2 separate regions of the Homo sapiens genome follow, and region 2 is linked to region 1. The links are contacts of gene promoters, found by promoter capture Hi-C in blood cells and fetal thymus (Javierre and others, 2016). All regions are on one chromosome and are shown on one strand. Each heading gives the region's core, a stretch centred on a gene start or on the middle of the fragment in contact. The rest is flanking DNA. Distances are from core to core; before and after follow the strand shown. Region 1 holds the start of CCDC186 (coiled-coil domain containing 186). Region 2 holds the start of PLEKHS1 (pleckstrin homology domain containing S1).

Region 1 (7,216 bases), core at 2,702-5,201:
ATGAAAGTGCTGACTGGGCGTGGGGGCTCATGCCTGTAATCCCAGCACTTTGGGAGGCCGAGGCAGGCAGATCACTTGAGGTCTGGAGTTCGAGACCAGCCTGGCCAACATGGTGAAACCCCGTCTCTACTTAAAATAAAAAAATAAAAAAAAATTAGCTGGGTGTGGTGGCAGGCGCCTGTAATCCCAGCTACTTGGGAAACTAAGGCAGGAGAATCGCCTGCACCCAGGAGGCGGAGGTTTCACCGAGCCAAGATCACTGCCACTGCACTCCAGCCTGGGCAACAGAGCAAGACTGTCTCAAAAAAAAAAAAAAAAAGAAAAAGAAAGAAAGAAAAGAAGGTGCTGTACAGAGTTCTGACAGAAGCCACATCGTTTCCCCTATTATTAGCATGGTCTGTTAGCATGATACATTTGTTATAATTAAGGAACCAAGGAACCAACATTGATACAGTATTAACTAAAGCCCATCTTTTTGATTTCCTTCGTTTTTACCTACTGTCCCTTTTCTGATGCAAGATCTCATCAGGATATCATATTACATTTAGTTTTCATGGATCCTTAGGCTCTTCTTGGCCATGGGACTTCCTTAGACTTTGTTTTGATGACCTTGATGTCAAGTTTCCAGGAGTACTCTCAGGCCTTTTGTAGGATGCCCTACTTTTGGAATTTGTCTGATGTTTTTCTGCTGGTAGGAAAGGAGTTACGGGTTATTGGAAGGAAGACCACAGAGGTAAAAATGCCATTTTTATTGCATCATATCAAGCATACATCCTATGAATATGATTATGACAATTGATGTAGGATTTGGTCATCTGGCTGTGGTAGTGTTTGTTGGGTCTTTCTACTATATTCTTTTTTTTCCCTTCCCTTTTCATACTATACACTTTGGAAGGAAGCTATTATTTGAAGCCCACATTTAAGGAGTAGGGAGTTATGTTGTCCCTCTTTGAGGATGCAGTATCTGCAGAAATTATTTGAAATTCTTCTGCATGGGAGATTTGTCTCTTCTCCATTTACTAATTTAATAACGGACTCGGATATTTATTTTATACTTTTTTTTTCTTATTTTATACTTTTCTAATCCAAAACTACTGTATTTCCTTGCTCAGATTTTTCCAGCTTTGGCCACAGGAAGCTCTTTCAGTTGGTTTCTGTTCCTTCACATACTATCATCAGGTGGTATTTTGTTTGTTAAGCACTTTATTACTTTCTGGGATATTGTATCTTTTCATCCAAAAATATTGTAAGTAGGTGTCTTTAAGAGATTACCACTTTTTAAGTAATATCACCAAAACATATCCCAACTTTAAAAACAATAATTTCTCTTGCTTTCCTTTCTTTTCTCCTTTTTCTCCTTTCCTCTCCTTTCCTTTCTTTCTGAAAGGGTCTTGCTCTGCCGCCCAGACTAGAGTGCAGTGGCACAGTCATAGTTCACTGCAGTCCTGAACTGCTGGACTCAAGCCATCACCCTGCCTCAGTAGCTGGGATTACAAGTGTGAGCCATAGTGCCTGGCCATAATTTCTTAATATCATAAAATTAATACTAAACATTTCCAGATACCTCAAATGTTATTTTTTAATTTTCTTTTTAGAGATGGGATCCCACTGTGTTGTCCAGGCTGGTCTCAAACTCCTGAGCTCAAGCAGCCCACCTTGGCCTCCCAAAGGGCTGGGATTACAGGTGTGAGCCACCACACCCAGCCATTCAGATGTTATCTTAAATCGTTGATATGTTCAAATCAGTATCAAAACATCCTGTATTTGCACTCAGTGATATATTTTAAAAAGGGGTTTCTCTTTAAATCCTGTACTTCTCTTGCAATTTATTTATTACAGTAACTGCAGGGTTTTTTTTTTTTTCCATTCAATTTTGTTGATTGCATCCCCCGGCAGGAATACTTCACAGGTGGTGTTGTGCTTCTCTATTGTAGCATTTCAGAAAATACATAGTATGTAGTTGTTTCACTTTGGAGGATATTAAGATTGATCTAGTAGGTTCAAGTGGTGCCAGCCCCATCCATCCATTACAATACGAAGCTTCCTATCAGTTTTTCATCTAATGGTTCTAGATTCACAGATGACCATTACCTAGATCCATTATTTCATCAGGGTTTGCAAAATGGTGATCATCTATCTTTCTTTCTGCAATTATTACATGGAGTTCTACAGAGAAGAGCTTCCCCACATTGACTATTTGATTGACATTCAGTTTGCAACAGGAAAGGTAGGATGAATGCTTGATTCTTTATCAGTTCTCAGATTGTAATGACTTGTTGGCATCTTTCCAAGAGGGTCAATGACATTAAAAAAAATAAATGCACTCACTGATTTTTTTACATAGTGCGTCTCAACCAGTTGCTGTTATTATTTTTGAATGCTAAATTTGTCCTGTTTGAGAAGTTGGGGCATCTTTGAACTGCCTTCTGAGTCTTTTGGGTACAGTTCATGTTATCTTTGCTTTTCTTCCTTGCTTTCTGCTACAAGCAATATGTCCTAGGCTATCTTGCATATTTCTTGCCCCTACTGGGAATCAGCACTTAACCTCCAAGAGAAGCCAAGGTAACTTTTTTTGGGCAATGCTCTTTAGAGATCACAATCTGGGGAATAGGAGTGTGCAATGGGTTGGTCACTGTTCTAAGAGTTTTCAGTGGACACACCTTTTTTTTCACGAAAAAAATGTACCATGAGTTAATTCTGATATTTGTAAATTCAAATATAGGATTGCAGAATTTTAATATAATGTCTTTGGTTTATATTTGTATTTCTTTTCTCTTATGGTGAAAAACTTGGTTCACAAAGATATATTTATATACTTTATACTAATTATAAATTCAGAAATATTCAGAAATAGTAATACCTATGTTATTACTGACGAGTACCGAAAACAGCTTAAGGTTTCTTCAGTTTTTTCCCCTTGGATTAATGTCTCCCTAGGAAGGCTTGGTCGATTTATTGTTTTAAAGTCAAATCATTTATTTTCTATGACAAGACACTTTAACTGCAAAATGTGCTTCAGTGTAGTACCTTCATTTAAGGAGGAGTGAGGTGCCATTACACCTCCGTGTGTGTGTTTTGCCAACAGTATCGAAGACGCTTAACAGAACAGTAGTAAGTTTTGCTTTACAAATTCTTACATTGCAGAATCGTCTGCATCAGCTATTTTCATTCATGAGATATGTGTAAGACCTAAACCAAAGAACATCGTTTCCCCGGACTGAGGAGGTTTGCGAAACCTCCAGAGACTGAACTGCTGACCTTCCTTCTCTGGGCCGGGCGAGGCAACTGTACCCAATACACTTTTTGTTGCCATGCTGCGTGCCAGGTTACTCAGCCGGGAGAGGACACTTCCTACCATCAATGCGCTCAGCTTGAAGCCAGAGACGAAGGCACCGACAGTTTATTATTAAACAATGGCAGCAGCGCCACGCTGAAGACACGAACGCGCTGTTATGGAACCCCCAGAGGTCTCCCCCATCGTAGCCTGCTCCAGCCGACTCCGCCCACGTAAGGTGCAAGGTTTCCGCATGAGAGCCGGGAAGCCACAATTTCAAATTCTCTTTTATTGCTTTATGTCCCTGACTCATGCAGGCCAAAGGGTGAGGAGGAGTAATAGCCAACAAGAGCGTCCTGCAGAAAGAAACAGGCTGCGTGGGTCCGGAGGAGCTTGAAAGGAAGAACCCGACCAAAGGGCAGGAGACCCGGCTCTCCAGGTCGCGGAGGCGTGGGTGCCCAGCCAGGCGGAGTGCGGGGCGGGGCCTCTCGGGCCGCAAGGTGGGGCCTCCTGGGCCGGGAGGTGGGAGGTGAGCTCCGCCAGCCCAGCCCACTGCAGACAGGTTACCCAGGACCTCAAGGTGTGCTGCGTCACCCCGCCCGCGCTGCGCTGATTGGTTCCTCCAGGGAGCCCCCGCCCCCTCAGCTGTAACCGGGCCGGCTTCAGTGTCGCCGCCATCTTTGTTGATGTGTCAGCTCCGCAGGGGTTTGGGGAAACGGCCGCTGAGTGAGGCGTCGGCTGTGTTTCTCACCGCGGTCTTTTCCTCCCACTCTTGGCTGGTTGGACCCCGCTATGGAAAAGTTGGCCCCTGAGCCAGAGCTCCAGCAGCCTTGTTAGGGCGTGGCCTGAGGCTTGGATAAGTGGGGTAAGTGTCTGAGGGGTACTCGGGGCACACCGGTGAGTCGCGGTGGCGGTGCGGTGGGGCTGCCAGCCTTCCGCTCCTTCCTGCACGTTCCGTGGCGGGGGCGAGGGCGAGTGCGAGGTGGAGGTCGAGGTCGAGCGGGCTCCCCGCCTGGCTCCTTTGAGGGCGCGGAGGAAGGGGAGGGCTGGGGAACGGGTTTCAAGCCCTTTCCTCTCCCTGCCTTCCTCCTTCGGTTCCGGGACCTTGGAGGTGGCAAAGAGGGGTCAGCGGGGGTCGTGGGGGCTGTGCCTCGAGAGCGTCTGAATTCGAGCCCATTGCCTGGGCTGCGTGTGAACTGCAGCCAAGCCCTACCTGCTCGAGAATCTTTCCTAGACTCAATCGCCTATTTCGTTTTTCGTCTCAAGTTGACTGTATGTGGGTGTTTTATATTTACTGTTGTGAAGACTTGTTACCCTCTTCCAAACACTTCCATTACTGTGATTCTAAGTTCCTTAGAAGTGATTCTTTGGAGTGGTGGATACTGTTCTTTATGTTGTCTTTCAAGGACGTCAAGGCATTTCATAAACCTTGGTTGGTAAGGAAGGGGTTTCAGATTTATGTCTCCATCAGTAATGAAAAATGGCAAAAACAAAACAAAAACCCTTCTACGTGTCCCTAAGTAGCAATCTTGGGAAACAGTGCAGGTGTGAGTATTGCTTAGCTGTTAACAGTTTAACAACTTCACCTAATATTCCCATCTTGATTTTGTTTAGAGGAAAAAGTCCTGGATTTCGAGTCAGAACATCTGGATTAGAATCCTACTTCTTTCACTTGATAATCTTGTTACCTGTGGAAATCAGAAGAGAGAATATAGTAAAAATACGCAGTACAGTCCCAGGTACTTGGCCGTTTTCTCTGCATGTGTGTCATGTTCCTTTGATGCCCAGCTTTTTTTTCTTCCAAAACGATAGGCCGGGTGTTGTCTTCTAAGGTGTTCAGTAAATCAGGGTTTCAAGAGGTGTGCTGGTAGTCATTCAGAAGAAATTAATCTGCTATTATCTATTTAGGTATGCTAGTTGTGGGTGTGGCTTTCCCAACTATCAAGTACACCTTAATATTTACCGAGTGTTCATCTCGTGGGAAGGATTCAGGTTCAAGAGAGATTGATAGTGAAACTGAACTATCTCTGTGTGTAATGTACACTGTTCCCTGTGTAACTTCAATTCTTTATCCAACATTACACAAATAAAAAACAGTAATGATTGGCTAGGTTCATTTTTCTCTTTTATTTCTGGTCTTTTCATGTTATTTTTAATGCAGTGAAGATATTAGATCACGAATCTTGCAGTATTAAGAATTAAAACTTTTTACAGCATAATAGGCAAACGTATGATTACTGAAGATTCTCCCTGGAAATGCATGGATTGTGTTTGTTTTTTAAAGGCCCTGTTAAATTCAGAATAACTGCATATAAACTTAAGGTTTCTTTAAACAGTGGAGATTCCATAGTGTGTCATTGGCTTTTGAGTCCTATTTATTGCTAACGGAAAGGGTTGGCTGGTGTGTATCACAGTGACCACTCTAACCTTTTAGTTCTTTCACCCATAAAGTAGAGTTGTCCTTTAATGCTATGCAGTGACAGCATAGCTAATGATTGCTTAGTATGTTCAGTTTAGAAACATCTATTTGCAGCTTTATGCTGACATCACAGAGTGAAGATAAAAGCATTGCAGTATACTGACTCCAGGAAGAGACAGTAGGTTGAAGCACAAAGCAGCTTTATTTGGAGATTTAGAAAATAATCTTTCCCTTTGAAGAAGGACTGGTAATCTGCACTAGTTTCTCAAATTCATGCAACAGTTTCGTGTTAAAGTAAGAATCCTTACCCTGAAATTTTTTTTCTTTTAGTAAAACTTAGGTTTTTCTTTTATCTCTACCTTAAAATAACTAAAGCTGGTTTTTCAATTTCTCATAAACATATCACTGAGTTTACAGTATTGCAAATGTTATACTTAGTATTCATTTTAGGGGCAGCAGTGAGATCATAGATAATTTAATCTATTGTTTCAAACTGCTTTGAACTTTCTTAGCTACTGAGATTTAAAAAATGTATTTGGGCTAAAAAGTAAGAAAAAGGAAAAATACTGAGATGAAGGGACAGTAGACACAAAGTGGAAATCAGCACCAGCATAGTTTTGATTGGATTGTGAGTGTATTTCTTATTAACATTTGTCTATCATTAAGACACTTGAACTGATAATTGTGGGATTATGTAGACTATGTAATGTCTACCGCACTTACTACATAATCCCACGGTAGACTATCAGTTCATGTTTTTAATAAAGTAGAGCATACCAAATTAACCAACTCTGGCCAAAGGTGTCTTCAAAATTTAAACATTAACCCAAACTTTTTAATGTAATGCAGGCTTATAACTTGAAAAAAAATTTTTTTTAAAGATACTAGGCTTCATTTTGTTTAGTTTTTTGAGACAAGATCTCAATCTGTCACCCAGGCTGGAGTATAGTGGTATGATCATAATTCACTGTAGCCTTGAACTCCTGGTCTCAAGCAATCCTCCTGCCTTAGCCTCCTGAGTAGCTAGGACAACAGGCACAGGCCACCATACTAATCTTTTTAATTAAAAATTATATATTATTATTTTTTATAGACCAGGTCTTGCTATGTTTCCCAGGCTGTTCTCTTAATTCCTGGCCTCATTTGATCCTCCCATCTAGGCCTCCCAAAGTGCTGGGATTACAGGTGTGAGCCACCTGTAAAGGAAGGCCTGAGAGCCTTCCTTTTTGAAAAAGGAACTATAGGTCAGATTTTTTTTTACCTACTTTATTCCTTTTCAGATTTGGAGGAAAATTAGCTGATAATACTTTTCATGTTTTCTTAGACTCATTAAAGTGCAAGTGCAATCTTCAAATTAGATTTCTGTATTAGTAGGAAGTCATTTCTGATAACTTTCTGCTTTAGTATTTTAAAGTATTTATAGGAGACATGTAAAATTACCGAGCTGATATGACATATATGGTGTAACTTGATAAGGTGAACTATGATGTGGCCACTGACCCTCTTTTTCATGGAATTTTGAT
Region 2 (7,332 bases), core at 437-2,936, 420 kb after region 1:
ATATTTAAAAAATTATCCCTGAGATTTCTTATCAAATCCATGAGGTTCTTTCCAGTTTCAAGGATTTCACTGCCTGAAGAGCTGGGGACAAGCGGTTTTCAACCCATCACCTTTCCCTCTGTCCATGTTTATAGGACTTGGCCACGCCCCCTATGCAGCTGTTAGCCTAATGAGTGATGGCCCTCAAGGATCCAATCGGAGAAATGTGCAGGAGAGATTAGCTGTGGGTGGCATATTTTAAAGCAGTGTTTACTGCAAGCTGTTTTTGAGCTGCTGTTTGTCAAAAAGCCAAAAAATCATTTTAAAAAATATTTCTAAAGCCTTTAAAGTTTATAAAATGCATTTGCATACATTATTTTTTTGTGTTCAGAATGGCTTCATTCTGAGATAGCTCATTTTACAAATGAAAAGCTGCATTTGAGAGAAGACTGAGATGACTTGGACCTAGGTCCCCTGGCAGAACTCCACACAGCACCACATTCATGCTCATGGACACTCCCAAATAACATTTGCCCTCCCTGTGCCCTGTGGATGTCAAAGTGTGCTTTGGAGGACATCTCTGTCCTTCCAGTGTCTGCAAAGGGCTCCAGAGTCATGTGCTGCAACCATTCCTCCTTCATCTCCCCACCCACCGTAAAATGAGAGGACAGATAAGGCAGTAGGGTGTGGTGGTTTAGAGTGTTAGCTCTGGCATCTGGGTTTAAATTTCATCTCCATGAATTATGAGGAATGTGATCTTGGATACTTTATAATACTTCTCTACACCTCCATTTCTTCATCTGTAACATGAAGGTTATTACTACCCTCATCAGATTGCTGGGAGTATCACTTGAGATACCCTGTTGATGAGCACTCCTCAGTACATAATAGAAGCTCAATAAATGCTAGTTGTTAGGTCCTTTCCAGCTCAGATATTCTATGATTCTATGGTTGTTTAATAATGGGTAGCATTTTTTGAGTACTTAATACATTCCAGGCACTTCTAAGCAATATGTATATGAAAGATTTTATGTATATGTATACATATAATTTCACATATACATATAAAATCTCATCCTAACCTCATAACCGTACTCTAAAGCTTGCACTGTTTTCACAATGATACAATGCCCATTTACAGACGAGGAAATGGTTATCGGAGAGATTAAACAACTTTACTTTGATCATGTAATTAAAAAGAAGCAGAACCAGAATTCTAGCTTGAGAGCTGGCCTTAACTACTTTGCTTTTCCTCCTATCTAAGAAAGTAGAATTAAGTCTTTTCATAGTTCTGCTTGTTTTTCTTGTCATTGCCCCCAAACAAAAAAGAAAGCCTTTCTGATTTAGCTGTTTGATCTCATTCAGGAGAATCTCCCCACAGTCACTGCCTGACCCATTTATTATAACATTATTTTGGATTTGGTGAATACAGTATACCAAGAGGTCAGTCCTATTTCCCTCTGACTATAGTATAGCCTAGGAAGCTTATGAAGAAAGTGCCCATAACAGAAATACAGCATATCTGCAAAATTTTCCATTTCCAATTTTGCAATTGTTCAATTGCAAAAAAGCTTCTAGATCATCCCAGCCTTGGAAGTCCAAACCAGATACACCAAGCAGTACTTACTGGAAGCCAAGAGGTCGCTGGTCCAGTGCTCAGGAAAGTGCCTTGTCCCGAGGATTCCTGAACTCACTCCTGCTGACTCTGAGCCTTGGTGCCTGGGTGAGGATTAAGCACAAACTCTGCTTGAAATCTGAACCACCAGGAAGTTCCCAAACTAATATCCTTGAGCAGATTTTATTCTTGCCCCAAACTGAAATGGAAGCTATGCCCTCAGGGGAAGTTCTGGGCCTTCATACTTGTGGCTTGCCACAGAACTCTCCTTGGTGTCCCAGCTGCCTAGCACCAAAAATGAAAGCAAACACATTAATAATAAAAAAAAATTCCTGCCAGACTTTGGACCATGGTCACAATAACCCTTATTGAGAACAACGCCAATTTACCCTCAACCGTCTGTGGTGACTACCATTGAAAAAAAATCCCTATGCCTCCCTCAGCCATATCTTAACCAATGTCTTCCTGGGAAGGGTAGAAAGGGTTCCTTTGTACCAGATGAGGAAACAAAAGCCTGGCTTCTCTAAACACTTGTACATGCCAATGGTTTCCAGGAAGAGTTGCTCATTCAGCCATGACAGAGTGTTACCATCAACAGGGTGGCGCTAGGCATGTTCCCCTGCACAGCCACCAACAGCAATTGAGCAAACCATCATTCTTAGACCTGGTGAGTGGTATCCAGCCACCAAAGGGTCTTAGGTATATTTTCATGTGTATTACAGATTTCTAGGGGAGAGGAAGAAGTGATGATGAATTTTATCCTGTTCTACTGCCTTTAGAAGTAAAAGTACATCATTTGAATCCTCATCCTCACGAGGGTAGCTGGTCTGGAATCAGCTCTGCCATGGATCCATTGTGTGGTCTTGGCAAGTTAACTGGAGTTCTCTGAGTCTGTTTCCTCATCTGCAAAATGGAACAGATAATACTGACTTCACAGGATTTTTTTTTAAAGTTAAGTAAAATTTCACATATAAAAAGCATCTAGCACAGTGCTTTATCCACAGTTAGCATTCAACAGAGGGTATTTCTTTGTTTTTCTCTTTTGCATCCTATGGAGGGTAGATGTTATTGGTTTCTTCATTTAGCAAACCTAGCTGGACTTCAGGCATACAGAAATTATTGATATATTGTTTGCTTCCTGCACAGGACCAGTTTTGCTTGATTTAGGAAAAACAATTTCTTAATTTTGATATAGTTTGGATGTCCCCTCCAAATCTCATGTTGAGATGTAATCCCCAGTGATGGAGGTGGAGTCTGGCTGGAGGTGTTGGGTCCTGGGGGTGGATCCCTCATGGCTTGGTTCTGTGTCTGAGATAGTGAGTTGTACTGAGGTCTTTATTTAAAAGTGTGTGGCATCTCCCCCAACTCTACTGCTCCCACTCCCACCAGGTGACATGGCTACTCCCGCCTCACCTTCCACCATGCGTAAAAGAAAGCCCCCTGAGGTCTTCTCAGAAGCTGAGAGATGCCAGGACTATGCTTCCTGTACAGCTTGCAGAACCATGGGCCAATTAAACCTCTTTTCTTTATAAATTATCAAATCTCAGGTATTTCTTTATAACAAGACAGAGATAGACCTAACAGAATTTCCTGGATGTTCTTTTGGGCTAACTTTTGATAATTCTGGAGATAGTCTTAATGTCTTTACATTAGAATTTTAATCAGATACCAGTTGTAGCTCTAAGTAGTTCATAAAAAGCTTGTGCTGATTTCCACTTACTTGGGAACTATAAAGTCCAGACAGCCTATTGTTATAATATAGAGACCTAACCAAAAAGGGGAAGAGGGAAAATTACTGTAAGACTTGTGTTCCTTTGGAAAGGATACCGATGAAACAGTTAGATGTGCTTTCCATCAGCAACCTGTTCATCTGTCTGTCCCTCCACCTACCCACCCATCCAACCCACCCTATTCTAGGCTTTTTTGTATTATTTTTCCAATAGTATTACAAAACTCTTTGGAGGAAGAAGCCTAACAAAGCTATTTGTACTGTAGATAAACCCATGAAATATAAACTGAAAAGCAAACAAAAACTGGCACAGACACCAAATACTAAACTTGCAAAACAAACATACCTATGAAACACAAGCATAGGTTTTTTTTTTTTTTTTTTTTTTTTGAGACGGAGTCTAGCTCTGTCGCCCAGGCTGGAGTGCAGTGGCGCGATCTCGGCTCACTGCAAGCTCCGCCTCCCGGGTTCACGCCATTCTCCTGCCTCAGCCTCCCGAGTAGCTGGGACTACAGGCGCCCGCTACCACGCCCGGCTAATTTTTTGTATTTTTAGCAGAGACGGGGTTTCACCGTGTTAGCCAGGATGGTCTCGATCTCCTGACCTCGTGATCCGCCCGCCTCGGCCTCCCAAAGTGCTGGGATTACAGGCGTGAGCCACCGCGCCCGGCCAAGCATAGGTTTTTAAAAGTTGTTTCCAATGACCTGTAAACAAGGTATCAATTACCTGTCACAAAAAGCAATCGCCTGTTCATCTGAAATATCAGATGAGTTATTCCATGACTTTGTTAATTGCGCTTTCCTGTCATGAAGATGCTCTTGAGTTCTGCTGCCTCTTAACCAAAACACAACCGAACAGTTTATATGGCATGGCAATACCTACTACTTATTGGGGATTTTTGTTTTACATAGAATATCTCATTTAATTCTACCTTGTTGCAGGATAAAATCTATTAATCCTAATTTTAAAAGAGGAAATTTAAATTTAGAGAGATTAAATAACTAGCTAAGGATCATGCAGCTAGTAAGTGACACACAGAAATCAGACTGGTCTGTCTTGACTCCGAAGCCTGTGTGTGTTCTTTCATATGCTACACTATGTGAGTCCTGGGCTGAGATCAGTTGGCCTCGGGTCTCGGCCTACTCTGACTGTGTGACATTGCGTAGATTGCCAGATATTGGGCCTCATAATCCCATTACTGTCCTTCCCCAAAGAGCTCTAAGTACCCATTCATCTCTGATTATGATTATGCCTTTGAATCAAAGTCAAGGGCTTATTAGCGTGCAGGCCATTTCACTCCATGCTGCGTGCTCATTGTCCATGTGGATAGTAAATGTGTCTTTGTCAGTGACACCGGTAAAGGAGTGACATCAATGACATCACTTCAAAGCATCCTTACTATACCTCTTCTCTGGAACAAAGAATTCAAGGAAAGCAAGGAGAAAGCTGTACACAGAACAAAGTAATAACAAAGGTATCTTTTAGATTATATTAAAAATGGTATCAAACCAAGACCTATTTTCTATCATCTGTTTGGTAGTAGTCTGAATCATCTGATGTTTGTAAAGAGAAAGGAACTGATGATATAAAGCATTTTGTATAATTTTATATGGTTCTCTTCCATGACTGATTTTGGAAATTGCTCTATAGTTAGGATTGCTTTTGGCTCTTAAAAAAACCCAAAACTCAACAATAGTGGCTTATAATTTATTTATCATACATCATGCAAGAAGTCTGGAGTGAAGCATTTCCAGACTTATTTTGACGATTCAGTGATGTTAGAACTAAGGTTATGTGTCTGATTTTCTTGGCCTTTTCCATATGGTCAGAAGTTGGCTGCCATAAGCATCATGTTTCCACAACACACTATCTCAAGCAGCAGGGAAGTGTTGGGGGAAAATGAGCATTCTCCTTATGTGCTTTTCACTTCAGGGAGAAAAATTCCTCCTACAAGGCCTGAATAAGACTTTCTCTTACATCTGATTGGATTGGTCAGCTATTACCTCAAGAAGACCAGTCATTGGCCAAGAGGAAATGAGATTTCATTGGCTTGCATCAATCATGATAATTTCCCTTGCCGTCTGAACAAAATTGGGGTTCTGCTAGCCAAGAAGATGGACCATGACTGTTACAGACATTATCATCCCTCTCTCCCTCCATCGTCCCCTGCCTCCCCTCAAGATTGTTTCCAAGAACTCTTACTCCTGGTCTCTGCACGCTAAGCACCTTGGCCTTTGTACATGCTGCTCCCTCTCTCTGGCCCACTCTTCTCCTGTTTCTTCCACTGGCTAACTACTACACATCCTTCAGCTCTCACTCCAACATCACTTCTCAGTGATTCCTTCTCTCCCCAGACAAGGCCAGATTCTTTATGACACATTATCATGGTGCAATGTTAACCTCAGTACACATTTTGCCATTTGTAATTTTAGATGCATTTGTCTGATTATTTGGTTAATGTCTGTCTCTTCCTCCACAAGACTGTATAATCCATTAGTACTGTGTCTGTTTCTTCTGACCAGTGTATCCCCAGTAGCTAGCTTAAATGCCTATCCATTCTTTATTTATTTACAGTGTGCCTACTATATGCCAGATGTTATAGATAATAGAAAAATGGAAAGATTAGTGTTTTTTGAGAGCTCATAATTTGACCAGGGAGATCCAGAGAAAACTAACTTTAATACTCCATTGGTAATCCCTCCTACTTCACTGTTGTACCTCACTTTTTAAATTTAATTTCATTTTTTTATACTTTAAGTTCTAGGGTACATGTGCACAATGTGCAGTTTTGTTACATATGTATGCATGTGCCATGTTGGTGTGCTGCACCTGTTAACTCATCATTTACATTAGGTATTTCTCCTAATGCTATCCCTCCCCCCTCCCCCCACCCCACGACAGGCCCTGGTGTGTGATGTTCCCCACCCTGTGTCCAAGTGTTCTCATTGTTCAATTCTTATGATTACACTCTGGACCTTGGAACTACCCATTCTTGCATGAACTTCGATAACTTTGACTGGGGTGCTCCACTTTCCAACTGCAATCTCCCTTCCTTCTATGCTTTACATTTCTTCACTTCAGCCTCTCCAAGACCTCAAGATTCTGGACCCTTCCTCGTTCTTTCAGTATGTCTGCTGAGATCAGTGTCCATTAGCAGCTGAAACTGCCACTCTCTCAACTGCCTGCAAAAGGAAATAAGCTGGGTTGAACTTTGCACAAGAATAACTACTGATGGGATCAGGGTGAGCACCTTACCCTAGGACTGCCCCTCTATTGGCTGGCTTTTGACCCAGGGAGAGGCCTGACACAAAGAACTTTGCTCAGAAGAGGCAATGGCAGCGAGCCAACCCTTGCTGAAATTTTCTCTTCTCTTTGCTTCCAAGTTACTCTCTCACTTGGTTCTCACTATACTGATCTATTTCTTTGTTTTGTTTGCTGGGTTTTCTACCAGCATGCAATCTTTACTTTTTGGAGTCCCCAGAGTTCCTTCCTTAGATACTGTATTTCCTTACTTTGCAAGTATTTCTCAATGCTGGAAATAGTGTGGGTCCATTGAGGTTGGTGACCGTAAATTTGGCAAGAGTCCTGATGTGTGATTTCCTCCAGTGGCCTTCAGCTGTTCAGGAGCAGGCATGGGGGAGCCAGGGCCTGGGGTTCATTTCAGCTTAGCATTTTTGCTAGGAAAATGCCACAGAAGGAAGGCAGCAAGGGAGTTTAGCATACTTGCTGAAGAATGCTCAAAATGTTGACTCATGGAATCAGAGGGTCATAAGGAGGAAATAACTAAGGAGATAAAGAGATAAAGGAGATAGGAGGAGATTCTTGGGGACGGGCATCCTGGGTAGTGATTCCTGGTGAGATGTGCCGTCAAAGACAGATGGTACAAGCTGACTGAAGGATAGGAAGTAGTGCTTGGAGAGAATATGCTTGATCGATCTTAAAATAGAGAAATTGCAAGGCGCAGGTAGCTTAGCTATGTAGCGTAGAAGGTCATTGGTGACGAGGAGGT

What was found. The method cuts DNA at HindIII sites, captures the fragments that hold promoters and counts their contacts. A CHiCAGO score of 5 or more calls a contact.
Region 2: the fragment with the promoter of PLEKHS1 here is called in contact with the fragment with the promoter of CCDC186 in region 1 in 6 of 17 cell types (M1 macrophages, megakaryocytes, M2 macrophages and 3 more); the score reaches 7.0 in M1 macrophages.

What each region holds. Positions count from the first base shown.
Region 1 is chr10:114,170,938-114,178,153 of GRCh38, reverse strand. It overlaps CCDC186 (coiled-coil domain containing 186), which reads left to right and starts at 3,951. Exons shown (of 16, transcript NM_018017.4): 1 at 3,951-4,139. It overlaps MIR2110 (microRNA 2110), which reads left to right and starts at 3,975; the gene lies at 3,975-4,049. It also overlaps a transcript of TDRD1 not described here. RefSeq lists a silencer at 3,616-3,885 and enhancers at 3,946-4,145, 3,741-4,269. The HindIII fragment of the contact is 5,809 bases long and covers 2,043-7,216 here.
Region 2 is chr10:113,746,036-113,753,367 of GRCh38, reverse strand. It overlaps PLEKHS1 (pleckstrin homology domain containing S1), which reads right to left and starts at 1,686. Exons shown (of 13, transcript NM_001395068.1): 1 at 1,607-1,686. The HindIII fragment of the contact is 1,743 bases long and covers 1,553-3,295 here.